Linked DNA regions of Homo sapiens: region 2 is linked to region 1. The links are contacts of gene promoters, found by promoter capture Hi-C in human tissues and cell types (Jung and others, 2019). All regions are on one chromosome and are shown on one strand. Each heading gives the region's core, a stretch centred on a gene start or on the middle of the fragment in contact. The rest is flanking DNA. Distances are from core to core; before and after follow the strand shown.

Evidence for each region. Contacts are between HindIII fragments. The study calls those that stand out against the background at their distance.
Region 2: a contact is called between a fragment that was not itself captured here and the fragment with the promoter of GRIK5 in region 1, in 1 of the 25 tissues and cell types used here (pancreas).

The regions. Positions count from the first base shown.
Region 1 is chr19:42,065,543-42,073,341 of GRCh38, forward strand. It overlaps GRIK5 (glutamate ionotropic receptor kainate type subunit 5), which reads right to left and starts at 4,664. Exons shown (of 20, transcript NM_002088.5): 1 at 3,699-4,664; 2 at 150-278. The coding sequence starts at 228. It also overlaps a transcript of ZNF574 not described here. The HindIII fragment of the contact is 36,913 bases long and covers 1-7,799 here.
Region 2 is chr19:41,900,032-41,907,830 of GRCh38, forward strand. ARHGEF1 (Rho guanine nucleotide exchange factor 1) reads left to right here. Exons shown (of 29, transcript NM_004706.4): 15 at 1,856-2,002; 16 at 2,243-2,325; 17 at 2,502-2,627; 18 at 2,753-2,867; 19 at 3,276-3,376; 20 at 3,676-3,753; 21 at 4,004-4,079; 22 at 4,185-4,352; 23 at 4,918-5,005; 24 at 5,144-5,230; 25 at 5,729-5,796; 26 at 5,908-5,994; 27 at 6,426-6,589; 28 at 6,672-6,772; 1 more. The coding sequence ends at 6,755. It overlaps ERFL (ETS repressor factor like), which reads right to left. Exons shown (of 6, transcript NM_001365103.2): 6 at 7,673-7,799. Among named protein-coding and RNA genes, the nearest start is that of ARHGEF1, 21 kb to the left of the region's middle. RefSeq lists enhancers at 3,732-4,337, 4,338-4,942, 5,548-6,152. The HindIII fragment of the contact is 9,702 bases long and covers 1-7,799 here.

The DNA of each region.
Region 1 (7,799 bases), core at 3,414-5,913:
CTGGGTCCTGGGGGAAGGAGGAACTGGAGGCTGGGATTCCTTGCTGCTGAAGAGAGCTGAGACCTGGACCCTGACGGACTGGCATGCCTGGGTCCCCAGAGGAGCCCCAGGGCCTGAGGATGCAGGGGCAGGGTGCGGGAGGGCCTCACCCATGCGCAGTGATGAGAGCACCTGGCAGCTGGGGCTGGCGAAGGCAACAATCAGCAGCAGCAGCAGCTCAGCCGGCATCTTCCTCCCCTCCTCATGGGGACGCAGCTGCCGCGGCCCCCACTCGCCACCTGCAGGGAGACCCCCCAGACCAAGGGGAGATTACTATGTGGTGGGATGGAACCCCTTGGAGGCCTGCTGGATGGGGTGGTCACAGAAGCCTTGGGGACATTGTTGGCAAGCAGTTCACAGCTCTGCAGAGCCCTGCTCTGTTTAGAAGCTGGCAATACTGAGGGCATTGCAAGAAGGGAAGCTCAGCTCAGAGGGGCACTACCAGGGTGGAGGTCACAGTGCTCAGGCGCTGAGTAGGACAGGCTGCAAGAGAGAGGATGGGCACAGCTACCAAAACAGGAGGGAGGCGTGCGAGGTTCTCAGGTAGGAGTGAATTCCTGGGACCAGCCCCACCCAAATAGGAAACCAGGAAGTGCCACCCCCCACCCAGTCCCGCCCCTGTCTCTGGGCAGGCAGCCGTTACTAGGCAACAGAAACCGGCTGGAGAGGATGCGGTGGTTGCTAGGCAACCCCATCCCAGGCCTCACTTGCCACTTTCCTAACATCCCCAGTTCCCACAATCCCATGGGGAGAGAGGCCTGGACATCCGAGGTCTGGAGGAGAGAGTATCTGGGAGTTAGGAAACTTCGGGAGAGATGGAGAGATGGAGAAAAAGAGAGAGAGGCACACACAGAACCCCATAGATGAATGGACCCAGAGCAGTAAAAGGGGGAAAAAAAAAAAAAGCAAAGAGAGAGAAGGGAGGAAACAGAGAAAGTGAAAGAGAGGCTTAGAGAAGGGAAAGACAGAGAGACTCAGAAAGAGAGAAAGGTCAAAATAGATAGAAATACAAGGGAAGAGAAAGACAAGACAATAGGAAAATGGGGGTAGAAATGGAGAGAAAAGAGGAGAGTTACAGGGAGGCAGGGAGAGGACTAGGAGGGAGAAAGAGGGAAGAGACAGGAGGATGAGGAGGCAAGATAAAGAAAGGACAGAGCAGGGAGCGGAGGAAAGAGGGGCAGGCTGGAGGTGGGGAAACCAAGGCACAGGCGAGACACAGGAAGAGGGAGACAGAGGATGGAGAAAAGATAGGAACCGACTCGGATACAAGCAGGAAGAGCTGGAAGGGAGGAGTGAGTAAGGCAGGGAGTGGAGCTGCCTGCCAGAAGTGGGTGCCATACCACTGCCCCCCACCCTACTGGGGAGAAGAAGTAAAGGGGGAGATGGTGCATCTTTGCTCTTCACAACTCTCCACCCCTAAGGAGTCAGGGATTCCTCTAGGCACCCCAGCTTTCTGCAGGGCAACCACTGGGCAAGGAGTTTGGCCAGATGCACAGCTCCACTTCCCCTGGCTGAGGGCTGTGCCCCACGGGAAGGGATGCTTGGGTTTCCATGGAGTAGGGTTACTGTGGGGGGCACAGAATGCTGTGAAGTGGGCCTGGACACCGGACCCCACTCAGTCCCCATGGAAGGACAGCTTGAGCTGGTGAAACTGTGGAATGAGAACTTCGAGGGAAGGATAGAGGCACAAGTCCTTCTCACCATCTCAAGTGGCCTGCAAAACCTAGGCTGGGGATCAGTCCCAGCTCTGCCCCTGACTCACTGCGTGATCTTGAGCAAGTCACTGCCTTCTAGGCCTCTGAGAAGAAGAGAGTGCTAGGTGGGAGGGTATGCTGGACAGGCTGGGGACTGCAAACTATAATGTGGATTAAGGTGAAGGCTTGTCAAGGATGGAGGCACAAGGGATGCTGGGAGACCCGGAGGAGCGCTCAGAGTGGGAGGAGTGTGAAGGGCGGAGCTAGGAGAGAGGCAGGAGTGGAGTGGGTCATCCTGAGACACCAGGGACTCCTGGGGCAAATCAGGGAGCAGAGGACAAAGGACAGAAAGACCGAGGGAGAGATGGGACAGAAGGACAGGGACCCACAGGTGGCAGCCAAAGGTGGGAGCAGACAGAGAAAGACAGGGTTGAGGGGCAGCAGGTGGACACAGAGATACACACAGAAAGACAGCCCAAGACGTAGGAACTGAGGCTAAGTGAGAGAGCAAGAGACAGACACAGCCTAGAAGTGAGACAGCAAAGGAGACAGAGACAGGGCAGGTAGGGTGTCAGGCAGGTCCAGGACTCAGCCCCAGAGACTGGGCAAAGCCAGATAAAAGTCAAAACCCAGCAGAGAGCTGAGCAACAGTGGGCATAGGAGAGACATCAGCAAAGGTGAGAGGCAAGGAGGGCCAGCGAAGGCACACAGGGTGAGGGAGAAGGCAAAGGGAGATAAAGAAACAGCAGCAGGTACAAGACTTGGGAGAAGGAAAGAAATGGCCAAACTCTACAAAGAGAGAGGGCCAGTCGGAAAGAGAGACAGTATGTCGGAGCTGCACGACAGGCCCATAGAAGAGGAAGGGGCAAGGGGGAAAAGCACCTGGGAGAGAGAAAGGGGGAGTCAGGGAGGGAAACTGAGGTGGGGAGATGGAGTGAGTGCACTAGAGGGGCACAGGCAGGGACAGGGCAAGCACCTGCAGGAGAGGCCAGACCCACACAGAGGCATAGCCACCCCAAGACACTCAGGAATGCCGTGTGGGGGAGCAGGAGATCCTGGGGCCTGAAAGCCCCCAGACATGGAGAGGAATGGGAGCAGAAAGGCCACGCGAGGTAACACAGAAGTCGGGAGAGAGAATGGGAGTGGAAAGAGCCAGACCAGCCAGGAAAAGTCAGCATGGACCACGGAGAGGTGGGGCAGCAGCTGAGGAGGGAGGGACTGAGGAGCCGGGCACCCAGAGTGGATCTGGGGGAAAGAGGTGGAAAAGTGACAGAGGGAAGACAGCCTCCAAGCTCAGAGGCAGAGAGAGGGAGGAGGACAGGTGAGCGGAGGCACAGAATAGAAAGAGAAATGGAAAGAGACCTGCCGAGGGAGACTTGGAAAGAGGGAAGCCAGGGTGGAGGAGTTCTGACAGAGAGAGGGATCTAAACAGAGACATGCCGAGAGCAACCTGGGCTAACAGCAAAGAGAGAAGTTGGGCAGAGTCAGAGAGGGGCCCAAGAGACACAGGAAATGGGGGCTCAAAAGCGGAAAGACATATCCAGGAGATAGAGACTGGACGGGGTGGGGACAGGGCCAAGGCCCACCGCAGGCAGAGGATGAGGCTCAGAGGAACAGAAAGAGCCAGTCTGGGACCAGGACGGAGGCTTGGAGACAGCAGGGGCACGGACATGCCAGGGGCCCGGGGTAAGTGAGAGCCCAAGTAAGAGCAATCAGCCCCGTAGGACCCCAGAAAGCTAGAGGGCCAGGGGCGGCAGTGAGCTATGTACCCAGAAGAAGAGGTGAGAAGAGGTCGAGGTGAATGGACGCTGAGGAGATGGAGGGCGCAGAGCAGGCCCCTAGTGGGGGAGGGTACTTGCCAGTCCGGAGAACGGGGAGAATGTGGTGCCCCCCTGCCAGGCGGCACCAGAGCCCAGCCTTCCAGGACCCAGAACCCAGCCCAATCCCTGCCCTGCAGACACTCACGGATCCTGGTGGGACGGAGGGCTGGGCTCCCTCGAGGCCCGAAGACCGACAGCGGGAGGTGCTCTGGCGCTGGGTGGTGGTGGGGCTGGGCGGGGGGAGAGGGCAGTCCACAGGGCCCCCTCCCCCGCCGCCGGTGGTGGCTCCCAACTAATCCAAAACGGTGGCTCCACAGGAGCAGGGAGGAAGGACAGGTGGAAGAGGAGAGGGCGGGCCGGGGAGGGGAGGAAGGGGAAAGGAGAAAATGGAGGAGAGAAGGGGAGAGAGGAGAGGGGGAAGGAGCAAATGGAGGGGAAGGAGGGAGGAAAGGAGGAGAGGAAGGTGAAAACGGAAGGGGGGGGCACAGGCAAAGCCGGGGGAGGGGGAAGCTGGCCCAGGAAAGGGCCCCCGCCCCCTCCCCTAGCCGGGCCGGCCTGGGGGGGCCACAGGGGGCGAGGACTGGGTGGAGAAAAGGAAGCCGGCCATCAGGAGAAGTGGGGGAGGGGAGGGCCTGCTGGGGGAGGGGGCCGCCCCCTTTCCCCCTCCCCCCTGGAGCCTGGGCCCTGCCCTGGTTGAGGCAAGGGCCCGGAGTCCTCAAGCCCTCAGCCCCCACGGGAAAAGCATGCTGGGGGCGGGGAGAGCCCGGGAGTGGAGAGCTGGGGAGGATGGAGAGCTGGGAGACCCGGAGAGGCCAAGAAGGGGGCAAATGAGGTGGAGAGATAGGGAGGAGGGAGAGGAGGATGGAGAGGAGCAGGTGGAAGAGAAAGGCGGAGGAGGGTGGGGTGTCCCAGGGGCTCCCGGTGCTGGGCCTCAGTGGGAGGGCCTGGCGACACACTCCTGGTCCCCTGTGAGGAGCCGGCTCCAGTCCCCGGCTCCAGTCCCCGGCTGGGCCTGCCTCCCTGCCGCTGGCTGCCGCCACCGCTCAGTCTCCCCTCCGAGGCCGCCGCCTGCCTGCCCGCCTGCCGCCTGCGCTGGGTCCTGGAGCGCAGTGGGGTGGTTCAGGAGAGAGAGAAGAGGGAGGGAGGGAGGCAGGGAGGAGGGCGGGCAGGAGGAAGGGAGGGAGGCAGGCAAAGAGAGAGTAGGGAGGTGAGTCGGGGGAGGGGGAGCCTGTATTGGTTGGGGCTGGGGGCCCCCCGCGAGGAGAATGCTGATGAGAAGAAGGAGCTGCATTGGATGGAAGGCCCACCCCCGAGCCACCCCCTCTACCACACCATGCCACCGCCCTGCCCAGGCAGCCCTGGGCACAGGAGCCCACAGAGATGAGAGGCAAGAAGACCCAGGGAGAAGGCCACTGAGATGAGGGGAGAGGGCTACAGAGATGAAGAGAAATGAAGAGAAGAGAGACAGCCGTCAAGACTGTCCAGAGAAGTGGGCTGAGGCCCACAAACCCCACAAGGACAAGGACAGGAAAAGCCCAGGGATAAGAAAGAAAGGCCCATGGAGACAAGGGAGCAGCCTACAGAGACAAGCAAAAGGACCTCGGAGACAAGGGGCAGTAATGTGGACATAGAGACCTCCCGCGAAGGAAAACGGGAGAAGCCAGAGACACAAGAGAGAGGCCCCTGGAAACAGAAAGCACTCCTCAGATATGGGGAGCGGTCCACAGGGCAGGGAGAGAGCCAAGGAGAGCCGAAGAAGGTCACAGAAACAAGGGAGGCCTACAGACACCAGGGTACCAAAAAGACAAGGATGTGGCTCATAGACACAAGAGAGCCACTGAGGCAGGAGCTGCCAGCCTGGAGATGCGGGGCAAGCCTCCCCCAATATAAATAGCTCCTATAGAGGTGAGGGGATGGGTGGTGAGTATGAGAATTCCCTATAGTGCACAGAGAAATCCTTGGGACCCACAGAGATGAGTGGGTGGAGAGAAGGGGCCCTCATTCTCTAGTCACAGGAGCAGAGAGGCAGTGGGAAAGGTGGATGGGACAAGGAGAGGAAGCTGGAGGGCAGAGCCAGAAGTGGGAGACTCCTTCCCAGGGAACACCCTGCAGCCTCTCAGAAGGAGCTGAGCAGGACAGGGGGATGGAAGAGAGAAGCGACACAGATCTTGGAGTGGGGGTGGGTGGTGCATGGCTGGGTGGGGGGTGAAATTTGGGGGGAAGAAACATGACAGTTGGCGCCGAAGGCTGAGCCCGTGACTCACCACCACCCCCGATGCTCGTGATGGGGAGGAGACACTGACACACTCACGTGCGGCCCACAGCATATGTGACCGCATGCCTCGAACACACAGCTGGCACATGGCAACTCCTGGACCACATGCCAGCCCAGCACAGGAAGCCCTCTGCAAGCTGGCATGTGGGGCATCCTGGACACACATCTGACACATATATCTGACGCTGAAGGACCACCAACTTTGCACACACCTCCTTACCCCACTTGGTCAACATCTACACCGCCCCCTCAAACATCCACACTTAACTCCAGTCAGGCCTAAAAGCCCAGATTCACACCTGCCTCTGGGACTTTGCTTATGAAGGACCTCAACACAGAACACCATCCTTTCGACCAGGGCGGTGGCTCATTCCTGTAACCCCAGCACTTTGGAAGGCCGGGGCAGGTGGACCACCTGAGGTTGGGAGTTCAAGACCAGCCTGGCCAACATGGCAAAACCCCGTCACTACTAAAAATACAAAAATTAGCCAGGCCCGGTGGCACACTCCTTTAGTCCCAGCTACTTGGGAGGCTGAGGCACAAGAATTGCTTGAACCTAGGAGGCAGAGGTTGCTGTGAGCCATGATCATGCCACTGCACTCCAGCATGGGAGACAAAGCGAGACTCCATCTCCAAAAAAAAAACAAAAAACAAAAACCAACCACCATCCCCTCTAAATTCAACCTGTCCCGGAAATCCCAGCCAGTCCTGCACTACCACCTCCAGAAAGACCTCAGCTTATCCTCAGCTTATTCCTATATGATCTGGAGAAAAGAGACCTGCACCACCCAAATCAAGTTGAGAAGTCCAAGCAAAAGGCCTGAGAAGTTACCTGGATCCTCAAATTTTCTTTTTTTTTCCTTTTCTTTTTTTTTTTTTTTTGAGATGGAGTCTCGCTCTGTTGTCCAGACTGGAGTGCAGTGGCATGATCTCGGCTCACTGCAAGCTCTGCCTCCTGGGTTCACACCATTCTCCTGCCTCAGCCTCCTGAGTAGCTGGTACTACAGGCGCCCACCACCACACCCGGCTAACTTTTTTTGTATTTTTAGTAGAGACGGGGTTTCACCATGTTAGCCAGGATGGTCTCGATCTCCTGACTTCGTGATCTGCCTGCCTCGGCCTCCCAAAGTGCTGGGATTACAGGCGCAAGCCACTGCACCCGGCCAGGTTTTCTTTTCTTTTATTTTTTCTTTCTTTCTTTTTTTTTTTTCTTTAGATGGAGTTTCGCTCTTGTTGCCTAGGTTGGAGTGCAATGGCGCCATCTTGGCTCACTGCAACCTCCGCCTCCGGGGTTCAAGTGATTCTCCTGCCTCAGCCTCCCGCGTAGCTGGGATTACAGGCATGCACCACCATGCCTGACTAATTTTGTATTTTTAGTAGAGACGGAGTTTCTCCATGTTGGTCAGGCTGGTCTTGAACTCCTGACATCGGGTGATCGGCCTGTCTCGGTCTCCCAAAGTGTTGTGATTACAGGTGTGACCCACCGCACCCAGCCTGATCCTCAGATTTTCAAGTGGGGAAAAGGAGGTTTCAGCAGAAGCAAGAATCTGCCCAAGGTCACACAGCCTGTCAAAAACTGAGCATGGCTTCCACTTCTCTGTCACCTACCCCAGGTGATTTTGCCCTAAGGGCAAACCCAGACTGCTTCAGAGCAGGCCGAGCCTAGCTTTAGCTCACTAATTTCCACCAACTCTTTCCTCCACTTCTTGCATTCAACCCTTCAACATGCAACCACTTGAACTTCCTGCCTGGCAGGCAGGTGAGCCTGGGGGCCAAGAATGTAGACTGTAAGGTCAACTCCTGGGTTGGAATCCTGACTCTTCCTAACTATGGGAACTACGACTAGTTACTTCTCTGGGGCCTCGATGTTTTGTAGAGTCAGCATGACAGTTTCTCTCTCATAGGGTTGTTGAGAGGATTAAACTGAGTAATGCATGTAAGCATTGAGCATAATACCTAGCACGTCATAAT
Region 2 (7,799 bases), core at 2,752-5,251, 170 kb before region 1:
TGAGCACTTGAAATGCACTAGGCCAGGCACAGTGGCTCATGCCTGTGATCCCAGCACTTTGGGAAGCCGAGGTGGGCAGATCACTTGAGGTCAGGAGTTCGAGACTAGCCTGGCCAACATGGTGAAACCCCATCTCTACTAAACATACAAAAATTAGCCAAGCATAGTGGCGCATGCCTGTAATCCCAGATACTCGAGAGAGTAAGCCAGGAGAATTGCTTGAACCCAGGAAGCAGGAGATGGAGGTTGCAATGAACCCAGATCACTCCACCACACTTCAATCTAGGTGACAGAGCAAGACTGTGTCTCAAAAAAAAAGCACTAAATACAACTGAGCACTGACTTAAAATTTCATTGCAATTAACGAAAATGTAAAGAGTTGTACACGGCTGGTGACTATCACGTTGGACAGGATAGCAATTTCTTTCCCCAGAAAGAATATGCATAATGTACAAAATCGTGCTTTTAGTCTCAGGGGACTTCTAGGGCCCCTGAAACTCACACATATGCCCTCCGGGGATGTGGGGGTCCCTGGATCTGAGGCTGTCAACCACTGTATAATGTGGCTTGATGGTTAGACACTAAACACAGCTGCAAGCTTGCTGGCAGGTGGGATGACTAGCTTGTCCCCATTTGCTCAGGATATTCACAGTTTTATCACTGAAAGCCCAGGCAGGCAAATGAGGACCATTGGTCACTCTGGCCAGCTGCCACAGCGAAAAGGGAAAGGCAGTGGGTTGAGGAATCCTCACTGGTTTTTTTTTTTTTTTTTTTTTTTTGAGACGATCTCGCTCTGTCGCCTAGGCTAGAGTGCAGTGGCGTGATCTCCGCTCACTGCAACCTCCACCTCCCAGGTTCAAGCGATTGTCCTGCCTCAGCCTCCCAAGTAGCTGGAACTACAGGTGCCCACCACCACTCCTGGCTAATTTTTGTATTTTTAGTAGAGATGGGGTTTCACCATGTTGGCCAGGATGGTCTTGATCTCTTGACCTCGTGATCTGCCCGCCTAAGCCTCCCAAATTGCTGGGATTACAGGCATGAGCCACTGCACCCGGCCCCTCAGTGGCTATTTAAGAGGGCAAATGACTCCACCCGGAGAGTTTTTTTTTTTATTTGTTTGTTTTGTTTTGTTTTTTTGAGACGGAGTCTCGTTCTGTCACCAGGCTGGAGTGCAGTGGTGTGATCTCAGCTCACTGCAACCTCTGTCTCCCGGGTTCAAGAGATTCTCCTGCCTCAGCCTCCCGAGTAGCTGGGACTACAAGAGTCCGCCCCCACACCTGGCTAATTTTTGTATTTTTTTAGTAGAGATGGGGTTTCACCATGTTGGCCAGGCTGGTCTTGAACTCCTGACCTTGTGATCCACCTGCCTCAGCCTCCCAAAATGCTGGGATTATAGGCATGAGCCACTGTGCCCAGCCATTTTGTTTTGAGACAAGGTCTCGCTCTGTTGCTTGAGCTGGGGTGCAGTAATGCCATCATAGCTCACTGCAGCCTCAACCTCCTGGGCTCAAGGGATCCTCCCACTTGAGCCTCCCAAGTAGCTGGGACTACAGGCACACACCAACATGCCTGGGCTAATTTTTTTTCTTTTTTAAATTTTTGGTAGAAACAGGGTTTCACCATGTTGCCCAGGCTGATCTTGGACTCCTGGGTTCAAGCAATCCTCTTGCCTTGGCCTCCCAAAGTGCTGGGATTACAAGTGTGAACCACCATGGCTAGCCAGAGAGAGTTTTTTCCCACCAACTTCTAGGAAGCTTTCCTCCCTGCTCTGCCTCATTCCTCTAGCCTGCCCATGAGGTCATGCCCCCTAGTCTGCACCCTCCCCAACATGCTTCCTGCTTTGGTGGCCCTGCAGAGCTGCTGGTGACAGAGGCGGCCCACGTGCGCATGCTGCGGGTGCTGCACGACCTCTTCTTCCAGCCCATGGCAGAATGCCTGTTCTTCCCCTTGGAGGAGCTGCAGAACATCTTCCCCAGCCTGGACGAGCTCATCGAGGTGCATTGTGAGTGCAGAGCCAGGGTCCCTCTGTGTACCCCACTGCCCCACGGGCAGCTCTGCTCTAGCCCTGGGTTCAACCTGCTCGGGAACCCCAGGGTTCACATGGGGTGGGGGCAGATACGCCATCCGGTCCCGAGGATCAGACACAGACACACCTGCAGCCCTACCCCCACCACACCGCAGCAGGCCCCGCACAGCATCTTCCAGACCCTGGTGGAGCATCCCTTTCCTCCTGCCCCCACAGCCCTGTTCCTCGATCGCCTGATGAAGCGGAGGCAGGAGAGTGGCTACCTCATCGAGGAGATCGGAGACGTGCTGCTGGCCCGGGTGAGATGCCCAGCCCTCCCGCTCCTCCCAGCTAGACACATGGAATTCAGGCCCGGGACGGGTCCTGAGCCCACCCTACTCCAGTCCCAGGGTCTGGGCTTCCAGCCTGTCGTACTTTAGTCCCTGTTCTTGCCCATCCCCACTGAGACACCTGCCTGGCCTGAATCTCGCTGTAGTTTGATGGTGCTGAGGGCTCCTGGTTCCAGAAAATCTCCTCCCGCTTCTGCAGCCGCCAGTCATTTGCCTTAGAGCAGCTCAAAGCCAAGCAACGCAAGGACCCTCGGTTCTGTGCCTTCGTGCAGGTGAGGTGGGGTCTGGACTCCAGCTTCCCAGGGAGGAGGGGCCTGGAGACCCAGACTCCTAGGTGCCTGCGCCCTGGGGTGAGCCCAAAGCCTGGGCCATCGCAACACCAGCATGTTTCCCGCAGGAAGCTGAGAGCCGCCCGCGGTGCCGCCGCCTGCAGCTGAAGGACATGATCCCCACGGAGATGCAGCGGCTGACCAAGTACCCCCTGCTCCTGCAGAGCATCGGGCAGAACACAGGTACCGCGGGCCTGGATCTCTGGGCCTCGGCTCTCCTCTTTTTTTTTTACATTTTTTTTCTCACTCATTTTCATCAGTGATACCATCACAGCTCACTGCAGCCTCAACCTCCCAGGATCTACCATCCTCCCACCTCAGCTCCCCAAGTAGCTGGGACCCCAAGGGCACACCACCATGCCCAGCTAATTTTTTTAGTTTTTTTTTTTAGAGACGGGGTCTCGCCATGTTGCCCAGGCTGGCTTTGAACTCCTGGTCTCAAGCTATCCTCCCGCCTCAGCCTCCCAAAGTGCTTGGATTACAGGCGTGAGCCACCATGCCCGGCCAGCTGTCCTTTGTCTAACCTTGGCTGCCCAATCTGGAGCCTCCAGGGCAGGGGTTCACCAGAGCTGCTCTCTCCCTTGCCTGCAGAAGAGCCCACAGAACGGGAGAAAGTGGAGCTGGCAGCCGAGTGCTGCCGGGAAATTCTACACCACGTCAACCAAGCCGTGCGTGACATGGAGGACCTGCTGGTGAGCCTGGGCTGGCCCCACACCCGGGACAGTGGATGGTGTGAGAGCAGGGGGTGGACCCTACCTCAGCCTGTCCAGAAGTCACACCCCACCCCTTGGCTTGTCTCCCTCAAGGGTCACTGTGTCCAGGGGTTGGCTTGGCCCTCAGCATCTCCCTCTCAGGGTCATTGGAGGTCAGGCCCAACCCTCAGCTTGCCCGCATCAGAAGTTGGTCTTGGCTCTCATCTTACCAATGTGGGTCACTGCAGGTCAGCCCCAGCACTTAGCTTGTCCCCATAATGCTCCCGTCTCTGCCCCAGAGGCTCAAGGACTATCAGCGGCGCCTGGACTTGTCCCACCTTCGGCAGAGCAGCGACCCTATGCTGAGCGAGTTCAAGGTGTGACCATACCCTCCTGCCTCCCCCGCCCCCCTACTCCTTGGCCCAGGGGATTCTGTGATACAGCCCCCAGCCTGTCCTGCCCATCCCATAATACACCCAGGAAGCGAGAGCTCTGTCCCCCACCTCATGCCAATCCCATGATCCCCAGCCTGTGGTCATCCCCGGCCACTGCCCTGCCCTTCCCCTCCCCACCAACCCCAATCACCCCCTGCCAACCTGCACAAACCATCACCCCCTCCTGCCCCAGAACCTGGACATCACCAAGAAGAAATTGGTCCACGAGGGCCCACTGACGTGGCGGGTGACTAAGGACAAGGCAGTGGGTGAGTGCCAGAGCAGCTGCCTAGTGCAGGGTGTTGGGGCAGTGAGCCAAGGGCGGGGAGGGGGTCGCGCGGGGGCACGCCGTGTGAGCACTGCTCGCCCCGTAGAGGTGCATGTGCTGCTGCTGGACGACCTGCTGCTGCTGCTCCAGCGCCAGGACGAGCGGCTGCTGCTCAAGTCCCATAGCCGGACACTGACGCCCACGCCCGATGGCAAGACCATGCTGCGGCCCGTGCTGCGGCTCACCTCCGCCATGACCCGCGAGGTGGCCACCGGTGAGTGCAGCCACTGCATGGCCCAGGGCAGAGGGTGTCTTTTTTGGGCAGAGCTGCCTGTGGAGTGGGGAGCAGAACCCTCTAGAGAGCCAGGGAGCCAGCATTCTAGCAAAGAGGTTGAGAAGTAGGTGGAGGTGGGCAGGGCGGGGCCAGGCCTAGAGGGTTTATAAGTGAGGTAGGAACTGCTGCAGGTGTTTGCACAGAGGCGTGTCTTGTGTAAACAAGGAGAAGAAAGGCCAGGAGTCCAGTGAGGAGGGATTTGTAAACATACTACTAGGAAGTTGCACCAGGGCCACAAACACTGGAAGCGGCTGGAGGGTGGGAGTGGCTGGAGGGGTTTCGTTAGGTAAGCCAGGGTACATGCCCGATTCCATAAGGAGGTGTGAGAGGTGGGGCTCAGGAGGACACATCGGGCCCTGGATATTAGCAGACAGTGAGTGGTGAGTTGAGCCATGGGAGCCCTGAGAGCGCCACCACTGTGGGTGACTTCTCCAGCTTGTGCTTAGGGAGGGGCAGGCACTGGGGGGACCTGGGCTCTGAGCCCCATCTCCCCCTCTCCCTGCAGATCACAAAGCCTTCTACGTCCTTTTTACCTGGGACCAGGAGGCCCAGATATACGAGCTGGTGGCACAGACTGTGTCGGAGCGGAAAAAGTGAGGGGGGGTCTGAGTTCTGAGTGTGGGTGGAGGACGCCCAGGTTTCTGGGTTCCCAGGGACAGGAGGGCTGTGGGGAGGCCCTGGCATAGGGTCTGGGGGCTCTGACTGCCCAGGGATTTGGCCTTTCTCCCCAGCTGGTGTGCTCTCATCACTGAGACTGCCGGATCCCTGAAAGTCCCTGCCCCTGCCTCTCGCCCTAAGCCCCGGCCCAGCCCGAGCAGGTGAGGGGGGCCATGGAGAGAGCTGGAGGTTCAGGGAGTGGGGCCGGAAGGCGGGGCAGGCTTCCCTCCACAACTCCAGAACCGTCTCTGTGTGAGCATGCACATGTGTGAATGCATGTGTGTGCATACATGTGTGTCTGTACGCAAGTATGTGACTGTGCGTGCATATATAGTGTGTGTATGCATGCATGTGTGCGTGTGCATGTGTGTGCGTGTATGGTGTGTGTGTATGCATATGTGTGCATGCGTGTGACAGCATGTGCATGCATGTGTGTGTGTGTGCGCATGTGCCGACCCCACCACTGCCCCGTCTGTCTCCTGTCTCCAGGCCTCTGTGTCTTCCATTGTCTGGGCCTCTCTGTCTCCCTGTCTCCCGGCCTCGACCTCTGTCTCTGTCTCCGGACCTCCCTGCCTCCCCACCTCCAGCTCTCTGTCTCCCTGCCCCTGCGGCCCCCCAGGGCCAGGGGTGTGGGGTCACCCAGCACTTCCTCCCCTCAGCACCCGAGAACCCCTCCTCAGCAGCTCTGAGAACGGCAATGGTGGCCGAGAGACGTCTCCAGCTGATGGTGAGACCAGAGGGATGCTGGGTGAGGGGCCAGGTTGGGGCTGCCGGGTGAAGAGAGGCATCCACAGGAGGCCCGGCAGGATCTGAGCTCCCTCTCTGTTCCCCAATCCAGCCCGGACCGAGAGAATCCTCAGTGACCTCCTGCCCTTCTGCAGACCAGGCCCCGAGGGCCAGCTCGCTGCCACGGCCCTTCGGAAAGGTAGCCCAGCTCTGCCCCTCCAGGGTGGCCACCAGCCCAAACAGTGCCTCTGTTCCAACTAGAACAAGGCTCTCCACGTCAAAAATTTCCTTACGCCCAGCTGCCAGAAAACAAATGCTCCAAACCCACCCAGCCTGCACCACTGTCCTGGGTGCCCACGTCCCTCTTCTGCAGCCACCATCCCTTGCTTGATTCTATATTTAGCCTCTTCCTGAACACATCTCTGTCTTCAGTACCTTCCTGCCCTGTCCCAACCCTAAACCCAGCCTCACTTCTTCACCTCCCTTTGGATCCCCGAACCCCATCTGCTCAGCCTTGCCTGGCACCCACCTTCACCTCCAGCCCCTACACATCCCCTTTGGAATCCCCCATCCCAGATCCCAGCCCAGCCCCCTGGTCTCCTGACTCCACCCCTCCTTGCCCCTGGCCAGTGCTGTCCCTGAAGCAGCTTCTGTTTCCGGCGGAGGAAGACAATGGGGCGGGGCCTCCTCGAGATGGGGATGGGGTCCCAGGGGGCGGCCCCCTGAGCCCAGCACGGACCCAGGAAATCCAGGAGAACCTGCTCAGCTTGGAGGAGACCATGAAGCAGCTGGAGGTGGGGCGGGACGGGCCAGGGGTGCCCTGAGTGGGCTGGGGAAGGAAGGGGCCCCCCTCATCCATGACCCCCACCCCACCAGGAGTTGGAGGAGGAATTTTGCCGCCTGAGACCCCTCCTGTCTCAGCTTGGGGGGAACTCTGTCCCCCAGCCTGGCTGCACTTGAGGTTCCCGCCCAGGAAGGTGAGTGGGGCACCTGGGGGCCAGGGCGCTGTCCTGAAAGGAGGGTCCCCCTCCAGAGCTCGCATCCCTACAGCCCCTTCTGTCCATCTCCCTCTTTGTCTTTTCTGAATCTCCCCACTCCACCTCGTGTTTCTCATCTCTGTGTCTCTGTTTCTGATAATCTGTTTCTCTGTCTCTGTGCCCGCCTGCCTCTCCCCACCTCCCCTTCTCTCTCTGCTCTCCCTGTCTTGTCTCTGTGTCTGTCTCTCCCTGTCTCTCTCTCCATCTCTCCCCGTCTCCCCTCTTCTCCTACATCCCCCAGGCCTTTTGCAAGAAGGAGAGGAATGGGGGAGAGGACGTGAGGGACCACCCCCACCCACACAGCTGCCGCAGCATCTCACACCCCGAGGGCCTGAGGAGAGGGAGCTGTGGGCCACGCCTGGGAGGGGCCCAGCTGGGGTTACTGGCCCCGCATGAGCCTCGGCCATCTCTCCCTCCTGCCCTCTGCTTGGGGGACTCAGGGCTCCATTCTGGAGGGCACCACGGTGACCCGGGCCATCTCAGTATTGCCTGTGGGGGCCACCCCTCCACCCCCACCCCCAAGTGCCTTCGCTCTGTTTTTATACCCTGAATTGGAGGTTTATTTTTTAATATATATTATCTAAGAAGAGATCTGTGTGTGTGATGGCGGGGTGGGGCCTGGCATGGCGTCTGGAACTCTCTGTGACTGTCTGGCGTTGACATCCTGGGTCTGTGCCTCTGCGCCTCCCTCCAGTTGTTCATTCATTCATTCATTCATTTCTTTGTTTGAACCGTTACTCCCCAGGCACTCCGTACACACACTGGGTATGAGGCGTCTCCCTGACACCGCCCTCCAGCTCCCACCCCCGATCCCCCATGCTCAGCACTGGGCACCCCGAGTCTCACTCTCTGTTCTTTTATTTCTGTAGTAAACTCTCTGGAGGTGACTGTTGGGATCATGGGGAGCTGGTGGGGAGGGGGGCCCCTCCTGGGTGGGGGCTGGGGGCGGGGTTATTGCTCTGAGCTC